3 separate regions of the Homo sapiens genome follow, and all the other regions are linked to region 3. The links are contacts of gene promoters, found by promoter capture Hi-C in blood cells and fetal thymus (Javierre and others, 2016). All regions are on one chromosome and are shown on one strand. Each heading gives the region's core, a stretch centred on a gene start or on the middle of the fragment in contact. The rest is flanking DNA. Distances are from core to core; before and after follow the strand shown. Region 1 has its middle 8.1 kb from the start of LOXL2. Region 2 has its middle 12 kb from the start of TNFRSF10B. Region 3 holds the start of TNFRSF10A (TNF receptor superfamily member 10a).

Region 1 (3,121 bases), core at 3-2,502, 190 kb after region 3:
TGAGAAATTGTGCTCCAAGCATCTTGTTTACAGACATGGAACCAGAGGCCCAGAGAGCTGTCAACCCGAGCACCTTCCCTAGGAGGCTTTAGCAGGGGTGCTGAGACCAGACCCAGACCAAGTCAGCTAAGCCCCAGGAGAGTTCCAAATCTGCTCAGAAAGTACAATTGTAAATTGCATATGTATGCAATCAGGAGTGGTTAGGACGCATCTGCCTTTTTCCCAGGAAACACAACGTTTTTACATTGAAAAGTGTAATTTCATTTAATCTATTTTCTAGGATGTAAAATTATTCTGTCAACCACAGTGTGCTAACTTCATCCCTTTCCTTTTCTTTTGCTTACTTTATTATTATTATTGTTATTACATATATTTTTTAAGACAGAGTTTCACTCTTGTTGCCCAGGCTGGAGTGCAGTGATGCAATCTCGGCTCACTGAAACCTCCACCTCCTGGCTTCAAGCCATTCTCCTGCCTCAGCTTCCTGAGTAGCTGGGATTACAGGCGTGCGTCACCACGCTCAGCTAATTTGTGTGTGTGTGTGTGTGTGTGTGTGTGTGTGTGTGTGTGTGTGTGTGTATTTTTAGTAGACATGGGGTTTCACCATGTTGGTCAGGCTGGTCTCTAACTCCTGACCTCAAGTGATTGACCTGCCTCGGCCTCCCAAAGTGCTGGGATTACAAGCATGAGCCACTGCACCTGGCCTTCTTTTGCTTAATTTATTATTAATCATCATCATTAACAGCCTGTTTGAGAGTATGAAACAGTTTACTTGGAGGAGCTCAAAGCTTCTCATAGCTTTCTCTAATGAAGAAGGCTATGCAGGGCAGTCCTGTGTATTCAGCAAAGAAGGAAATTCAGTCTGGGAGGGAGAAGCATTCCATGAGACCAGGTTACATGACTAACTTGCCCTTTCCATCACCCGCTTGAGTTGGGAGTGACTCAATCCCTCCAACAACTTCCTGTGCTTGGAGCCCATTTGGGGTCCAGTTCAGGGTGATGTCACTCAGTGCCTCCCCTGCTTTGAAGTGGGACCAGGATCAGTACAACTCAAGCAGCCTGGGAAGGTCCTAGTCATAATAATAATAAAAAAAGTGTGCTTTCCTCTCCTGGGGATTAACATATCTGAAATCTTGCAATTAGAAATTAGTTCCTTTGAGTGAACTACCAATACATGCAACACTGTTTTAGTCCATTTTCTGTTGCTATAACAGAATACCACAGACTTGGTAATTTAAAATGAACAGAAATATATTTGACTCATGGTTCTGGAGGCTGGGAAGTCCAAGGGCATGGCACTTGGAAGGGAGAGCAAGCAAGAGAGCAAGAGGGGGCCAGAGTCCCCTTTACAAAAAGCCCACTCTTGAAATAACATTAATTCATTCATGAGGACAGAGCTGTCATGACCTAGTCACCTCTTATCAGACCCCAACACCCAGCTCTGATGCACTGGGGGTTAAGTTTCCAACACATGAACTCTGGCGGACACATTCAAACCATAGCAAACAGTATGGTTGAATCTCAAACATATCAGGATGCCTGCCCCCAACTCTGACATGCACAAAAAAGCCAGCCACAAAAAGGAGACATACTGTATGATCCAGTCATAACTCTAGAAAACTCTAGAAAAGTCTAAACTAAACAGCAGGGACTGAAAGCAGATCACTGGTGGCCTGAGGCTGGAGGTGGGTGAGGTGGCCTGGGAAGGAGCATGAGGAAGCTTTCTGTAGTGATGGAAATGGCCTATTCCTTGATTGTGGTGGTGTTTATATTAGCATATGTGTTTGTCCCAAACTCATGAAACTGAACACTTAAAATGGGTGACTTTATTTTAGGTAAATTACTCCATAATAAAGTTGATTTTAAAAATTAGTCCCTTGGGTGCCCCTTTTCTATCCTCTTTCAAAATGAAAAGTTTGGTCCAGGCTTGATGGCTCATGCCTGTATGTAATCCCAGCACTTTGGGAGGCTGAGATGGGAGGATAGCTTGATCCCAGGAGGTGAAGACTGCAGTGAACTATGATGATGCCATTGCACTCCAGCCTGGGCAACGTAGCAAGATCCTATCTCTAAATAAATAAATGAAATAGGCTGGGTGCGGTGGCTCACGCCTGTAATCCCAGCACTTTGGGAGGCCGAGATGGGCGGATCACGAGGTCAGGAGATCAAGACCATCCTGGCTAACACGGTGAAACCCCATTTCTACTAAAAATACAAAACATTAGCCAGGCATGTTGGCGGGCACCTGTAGACCCAGCTACTCCAGAGGCTGAGGCAGGAGAATTGCGTGAACCCGGGAGGCGGAGCTTGCAGTGAGCCAAGATCGCGTCACTGCACTCCAGCCTGGGTGACAGAGCCAGACTCTGTCTCAAAAAAAAAAAAAAAAAAAAAAAGAAATAAAATAAAATGAAAAGTTTGGGGAAGAGTAATGCGGGGTAATATGTGGTTTAGAGTATAGTAGCTGGAGCAACACTGCCTGGGTTTGAATCGCAGCTCCACCACTTACTAACCATAACTGAGCAAGTTATTTAACTTCACTGGGCCTCAGTTTTCTCACCTGTAAAATAGGGAGGGACCTCATAGGATTCTTGTAAGGCTGAAATGAATGTATGCGTGTGAAGTGCTCAGAGCCCAATGCCTGGCAGACAGCAAGTGCCACTCAGTTTGAAACTAATTTACATGGACGTGACTTGTTAGCTTCAAATTGACAGCTTTTTTCTAGTTATGATTCTTTAAAAATTTTAAGAGCAGTTTTAGATTTACAGAAAAAAATAAACAGAAAATGTAGAGAGCTCCCATATGCCCCTCATACACAGTGAGTTTCCTCTACTATTTTCATCTTGCATTTCGGTGGCACATTTATCACAATTGATGAGCCAGTATGGACACATTATTATTAACTGAAGTCCGCAGTTTACATTAGGGCTTATTCTTTGTGTTGTACATTCAATGGGTTTTCACAAATGTATCCATCATTGCAGCATCATGCAGAATGGTTTCATTGCCCTAAAAATTCCCTGTGTTCCACCTTTTTACCCCTCCCTTCCCCATAATCCCTGGCAACCACGGATCTTTTCACCGTCTCCATAGTTTTGCCGACTCCAGAGTGTCCCATAGTTGG
Region 2 (3,120 bases), core at 303-2,802, 140 kb before region 3:
GAGTCTGGCTGTGTCGCCCAGGCTGGAGTGCAGTGGTGCAATCTCGGCTCACTGCAACCTCCGCCTCCTGAGTTCAAGCGATTCTCCTGCCTCAGCCTCCCGAGTAACTGGGACTACAGGCATGTGCCACCATGCCTGGCTAGTTTTTTTTTTTTTTTTTTGTATTTTTAGTAGAGACGGGGTTTCACCGTGTTAGCAAGGATGGTCTCAATCTCCTGACCTCGTGATCCACCTGCTTCGGCCTCCCAAAGTGCTGGGATTACAGGCGTGAGCCACTGTGCCTGGTCGGCCCCATTCTTAGGGTTTTTAAGTGACATTGAATATAATGATTATTGTGTCTGCCCACTTCCAAGAATCTTGCCTCATTTTTGTTTTCCATCTTGTTGCACAGGCCAGAAATTTCAGAACCATGTTCAGCTGCGCTTAGGGAAGGCAGGTGTTTGGGTCCTGATTTGATTTCCGGGGAAGGCCTCTAACATGCCACCTTTAGGAATGGTGTTCACTTTTGGTTTCATATAGAAAGAAATTCACATCATCAAGAATGCAGCCTCCTATTCTAAAGGGGTTCCAAAAATTCAGAATTGGTGTTTAATTTCACCAAATGTCTTTTCAGCCTCCATAGAGACTGATGCTTTATTTCCTTATTTAGATTGTTGATATGGTACAGTATTGATGATCAAAGAACTTTTGGAGTCTTGGAATAAATTCTTTTGTTAGATGTTTCCTGAGCGCTCTCATACATAGTCCTCTGTTGAGACTTCTGTTGGTAAAAATTCTGTAATGAAGTGATTCTCTCCTGTGAGGGTGGGTGGAAATTGATGAGATGGGGAAGAAAGGGACTTTCTGGGGTGTGGCAATGTTCTATGTCTTGATCATAGGATTATTACACAGGTGTATACAGTAGTCAAAGTTGGGCAGAACACTTATGAAGTGAGCATTTACTCCCTGTCACTTTTGTTTCAATGAGTCACCAGCACACAGAGCCCAAGAGCTATGCAGGACCAGAGGTTTGTCTCCATCTCCACAGAGACCTGAGAGGGGAAGCTCTGTAGGTCTCTTGCTGGCTGGTGATCGGGGTCAGTACTAGACTGCAGGATTCCTGACTCTGACCAGAGCATTCCCCACTGTGTGTTACAGGAACAGGCAAAAGCTGAAAGGGTCATGGGAGGAGGCTGCTGGTTCCAGTGAATGGCGCTGACCCCACTGAGAGTAAGTGTTTTGTGCCTGGAGATGTAGAAGGAATGGAGGCAATAGGGACGATGTCCTAACTGCTAGCCCCATAGCTGAGAGTGCTCTTCTGGAGCATTCCCTGCTGGAAGTAGGGGGTCCTATGCCGATCCTGTGCTGATGATCTTTGGAGCATGAAGACCCTAAATCCCTCTCTTTCCTCTTCTTCTCAGTCAACACCTTGCTGGAGGCCTCAAACACTGAAAGAAAGACATGCAAAGGAAATAATTCAGGACCAACTGGTGGGCTCCAAAAATCTCTTCTATGAGGAAGGTGAATGCAGGCTCTGCTACGTCCTGCCTGTGAAAGAATCCCTTCAGGAAACCAGAGCTTCCCTCGTTTACCTTTTCTCCTACAAAGGGAAGCAGCCTGGAAGAAAGAGTCCAGTACTTGACCCATGCCTCAACAAACTCTGCTATCAATATGGTGCAGCTTACCAAAGGTCCTAGAACTTTGTCAACGCACTTGGAGTAATTTTTATGAAATATTGTGTGTGATAAGCAAACTGTGGAAATTTATATAAGATGTTGGTGGCATAGAGTTATACGATTGTGTATTAAGGGTAGTTTTAGGATGTCATTTTTTTTTCAGTTCATCATGACAGAAGTCCTTTTCATGAGAGAAGTCACATGAGAAAAAACTTTCTTATATTGTAAGCTCCTTCTATAGTGGTATGTGCATTTAATGACATCCAACTAAAGATGGTGTAATACCACGGTGGTTTGACTTAGAGTTTTTTAACTTTATATCTGGTTTATCTGGGTATTACATGCGTTTTAAATGTGGATCTTTTCAACTTACGATGAGATTATCAAGACATAGCCCCATGCTAAGTCATGAGCATGTGGACTTATAATGGTTCAATTTAGATTTTTCGGCTTTAAGATAGGATTATTGGGGCTTACCCCCATCTTAAGTAGAGAAACATCTGTATTGTGTAATACTATATGATGTACATTTTTCTGTTTTCCTATTTTCGTGCATGTTGATGTAAGCATGGAAAAATTTTAGGAAATGTATTTATTAGGCTGTTTACATGGGCTGCCTGGTGCAAATCAGCAGTCAAAAATGACTACATACACAACTAGCAATGGGAGGAGAAATCCTCCCTCTGTGGGAGGCACTGACTACATTCCAGTTCTCCCTCCTACGCCCAGAGACTGGACCAGGGTTTGATGACTGGCAACTTCTCAAGGGGCCGGTCTGTCTTAGTTGATGATTTTAGAGGTATATAGAGGTATTTATTTACAAATAAACAAATATTTATTTATAAGTAGATGTTTACATATGCCCAGGATTTTGAAGAGCCTGGTATCTTTGGGAAGCCATGTGTCTGGTCTGTCCTGCTGGGACAGTCATGGGACTGCATCTTCGTCCTTGTCCACAGCAGATGAGGACAGTGAGAATTAGGTTAGATCTGGGACTACAAATAGCTTCTCTTTCAAGTGCCATTACAGCTGAACATTAGTGAATCTTGGGCCTTCTTTGGGCTCAGGGCAGAGCAGGTGTTTATCTGCCCCGGCATCTGCTATGGCATCAAGAGGGAAGAGTGGACGGTGCCTGGGAATGGTGTGAAATGATTGCTGACTCAGGAGTGGATGGGCCCCTCTCGCTTCTGGTGGTCTGTGACCCTGAGCCCCTGAGCTGCATTTTACGGTAAAGATTCCTGAGCTGCAGCATCTGACTCATCTCAGAAATATCAATTCTTAAACACTGTGACAACAGGACCTAGAATGGCTGACACATTAAGGCTTTGTCCTTGTGTCACGCTCTATTATTTTATTTAAAAACTTCAGTAATCATTTTAGCCTCTTTCCAGCAAACTCTTCTCCATAGCAGTCCAGTAGTGGTAGGATAAATTATGGATGTAGTCGTTCAAGGGATTTTGGTCTT
Region 3 (3,175 bases), core at 413-2,912:
CTATACAGGTGAGCCCTACATCCACCTGGAATCGCACTAGCCTGTCAAAAAGAAAGCCATTTAATAAGCGTATTAAAAATAAGAGTCAAACGTGGGTTCCACCTAACATAAACTGACGTTTAAAACATAAATTCTGTAATTATTTGGAGATTTCAAAATGCTATTGGATTCCTGGATTTTGTTTAGTTTGTTAAACAAAAACACGTAAAATTTCCTGACACTTGTAAGACTGGTTTATCCTTCAGGTACTTAGCTTTCGTTTTGTTTTTCCTTAACATAGAAGGAATCTGGATGAGAACAATTGGTAGAGCCTTAATGAACTTGAAAGAGAACTGAAGGCATTGGCATTTTTCCAGACTGAGTGATTGCTTTCACAGGAAACGCTGCCTCCTGAAGGAAGGGCGTGCCCCGCTCCTGGCTGCCTGCCTCGTGGTGGTCAATTCGCTGCCCTGTACCTGTTGATGCGCAAGAAAGTGGCTGGAAGGAAACTGCTGCCGGTGTGCTCAGTGGACTCGAAACGGAAGACAACGAGCAGAGGAGAGAAAGTTACTTTTTCCTGCCGGGCTGCGTGTTTAACCAATTTGTCTAAGAAAAGAAGGATGGAGGGCCGGGCGCGGTGGCTCACGCCTGTAATCCCAGCACTTTGGGAGGCCGAGGCGGGCGGATTTGGCTAACACAGTGAAACCCCGTGACTACTAAAAATACAAAAAATTAGCCGGGCGTGGTGGCAGGAGCCTGTACTCCCAGCTACTCGGGAGGCTGAGGCAGGAGAATCGCTTGAACCAGGAAGGCGGAGCTTGCAGTGAGCCGAGATCGCGCCACTACACTCCAGCCTGGGCGACAGAGAGAGACTCCGTTTCAAAAAAAAAAAAAAAAAAAAAAAGAAGAGAAGAAAAGAAGGACGGGGGTGGGGAGGGAATCAGGGAGTGGGGAGAATGGCGCTCCCCTTCACGCAGCTGGTGTGGCTGGGAGTTGGCTTGGAAGTTTACACACTTGAGCTCTATCGATTCCGAAACTTCCCGATACATCGTGAGGTGTGGGCAGGAGGGAGACGCGCCAGGCAGCAGCCAACGGGGTGGAGTCCCCGGGCCCAGCCTCCTGCGGGAGGGGGCTCTGCTGCCTCCAGGCCCGGGTCGCTCCTGCCTGGCCCCGGGGACCCCGTTCTTCCTCCGACTCCGACGACGGGCTCCTCCTGCCCGGACATGCCCCGCCACAAGTGACCCGGGCCAGGCACCCCCGCCGCGTCCCCCTCTCTCTCTGCCCCCTCCCGGTGCCAGGCGCGCTTTTCCCCAGGCAGGACCGCGGTGGGGACTCACCTGCAGCAGGACCCCGACGACGACAAACTTGAAGGTCTTGTGGACCCGGAGCCGAGGGCTGGCTTCCCGCGCCGGCCTGGGTCCTGGGGCGCGCCCTGCCCGGGCCCGGGCACTGGGTCCGTGCTGTCCCATGGAGGTAGGGAGCGCTCCTCGGCCCCCGCCTCGTGGTTCAATCCTCCCCGCGGAAGAGCCCCACACTTTGCTGGGTGTGGCCGCGGCTGCCTCTGTCCCACTCGCTGCGCTCCCGGGATTCGGAGTCACTGCCAGGAACGCACCTAGATGTACTCTAGCTGGTGGTGGCGCCATCCTGCCAGGTCAATCCAAGAAGCAGCGTGCTTGGCTATGACAAGACAGAACTTCGCATTCGGAGTTCAGGGCACCCCTGACCCCGCCCCCTTTTCGGGGCACCTGCGGCTCCTGTTGGCTAACCCTGAACTTCCTTCCTCTGTGACCGCCCTTGCCGCTCTCAGCTTCTGTTCCTCAACCACGGCCGCCGCGTGGATGCCGCTGCATTCGGAGTCGTTTTGCCACTTGGTCCCAGCGCCAGGCTTCTCGGTCGGGAGTTGACCTCAGCCTTTCTGTGACCCAGTTCCTGGCACCCAGCAGGCGCTCGGTGGACGGATGGGTGGCGGAATGAAGGACACAGAGGCCACTGCGGGGTCTGGCCTCTAAGAGGCTTTTACGGCCTCCTCCGTCACTACCGGGCGAGTGATTCAGCCTGCCTTTTTTTTTTTTTTTTTTTTTTGAGATGGAGTCAAGCTCTGTCGCCCAGGCTGGAGTGCAGTGGCACGATCTCGGCTCACTGCAACCTCCGCCTCCCAGGTTCAAGCGATTTTCCTGCCTCAGCCTCCTGAGTAACTGGGATTACAGGTGCCCGCCACCACGTCCGGCTAATTTTTTTTCTATTTTTAGTAGAGACGGGGGTTTCACTGTTTTGGCCAGGCTGGTCTCGAGCTCCTGATCTCGTGATCCGCCCGCTTCGGCCTTACAAAGTGCTGGGATTACAAGCGTGAGCCACCGTGCCCGGCTCATCCTGCTTTTGGTTTCAGGTCTCCATGCCAGTGAAATGTCACCTCAACTCCACCGTCCCTGGTGTCAGGCAAGCCCGAGGGACCCAATTCTGCCTTTCTTCTGGATTTTCCTAACCTGTTAAGAGTCTTGAAAGTCCTTAAACCACGGGAGACTATCTGGCACATGACACGGGATGAGACTTGGTGGGGGTCCCACGGGGGACAGGTCCTTCCAGCGGTTCCTCTGCACCCAGCGCTGCACGGGCATGGGGCGTGGGTAATCAGCCTCCCGAAAGCCACGCGAGTCACGGTCCTGCCTGCGAAGAACTCCCAGGGCGACCTTGGGGCTGAGGAGTGGGTAAGAGAAAGGGGGCGCTGATTGATGTTCATTTTTCTCCATATTTTAATGGTGTTCCGGTACCATTTGTTGAAAAGACTCTTTTCGACCGGGCGCGGTGGCTCACGCCTGTAATCCCAGCACTTTGGGAGGCCGAGGCGGGCGGATCACCTGAGGTCAGGAGTTCGAGACCAGCCTGACCGACATGGAGAAACGCAGCCTCTACTAAAAATACAAAATTAGCGGGGCGTGGTGGCGGATGCCTGTAATCCCAGCCACTCGGGAGACTGAGGCAGGAGAATCGCTTGAACCCGGGAGGCAGAGGCTGCGGGGAGCCGAGATGGAGCCATTGCGCTCCAGCCTGGGCCACAAGAGGGAAACTCCGTCTCAAAAAAAAAAAAAAAAAAGACTTTTTTTCCTTATCCAATAGCCTTATCACTTTTGTTGAAATTAAATTGACCATATATATGTATGTGTCCATTTCCGGACTCTATTCTGTTCCGTTTATTTAT

Evidence for each region. The method cuts DNA at HindIII sites, captures the fragments that hold promoters and counts their contacts. A CHiCAGO score of 5 or more calls a contact.
Region 1: a fragment that was not itself captured here is called in contact with the fragment with the promoter of TNFRSF10A in region 3 in 1 of 17 cell types (M1 macrophages); the score reaches 5.3 in M1 macrophages.
Region 2: a fragment that was not itself captured here is called in contact with the fragment with the promoter of TNFRSF10A in region 3 in 1 of 17 cell types (total CD8 T cells); the score reaches 5.9 in total CD8 T cells.

The regions. Positions count from the first base shown.
Region 1 is chr8:23,410,672-23,413,792 of GRCh38, forward strand. No RefSeq gene overlaps it. Among named protein-coding and RNA genes, the nearest start is that of LOXL2, 8.1 kb to the left of the region's middle. The HindIII fragment of the contact is 932 bases long and covers 787-1,718 here.
Region 2 is chr8:23,079,848-23,082,967 of GRCh38, forward strand. It overlaps the pseudogene TNFRSF10B-AS1. Among named protein-coding and RNA genes, the nearest start is that of TNFRSF10B, 12 kb to the left of the region's middle. The HindIII fragment of the contact is 3,866 bases long and covers 1-3,120 here.
Region 3 is chr8:23,223,440-23,226,614 of GRCh38, forward strand. TNFRSF10A (TNF receptor superfamily member 10a) reads right to left here and starts at 1,663. Exons shown (of 10, transcript NM_003844.4): 1 at 1,317-1,663. The coding sequence starts at 1,622. TNFRSF10A-DT (TNFRSF10A divergent transcript) reads left to right here and starts at 1,782. Exons shown (of 3, transcript NR_033928.1): 1 at 1,782-2,684. RefSeq lists promoters at 1,155-2,191, 1,620-3,175, 1,620-2,273, a cis regulatory region at 1,155-1,234, silencers at 1,256-1,505, 1,673-1,864 and an enhancer at 1,916-2,055. The HindIII fragment of the contact is 5,488 bases long and covers 1-3,175 here.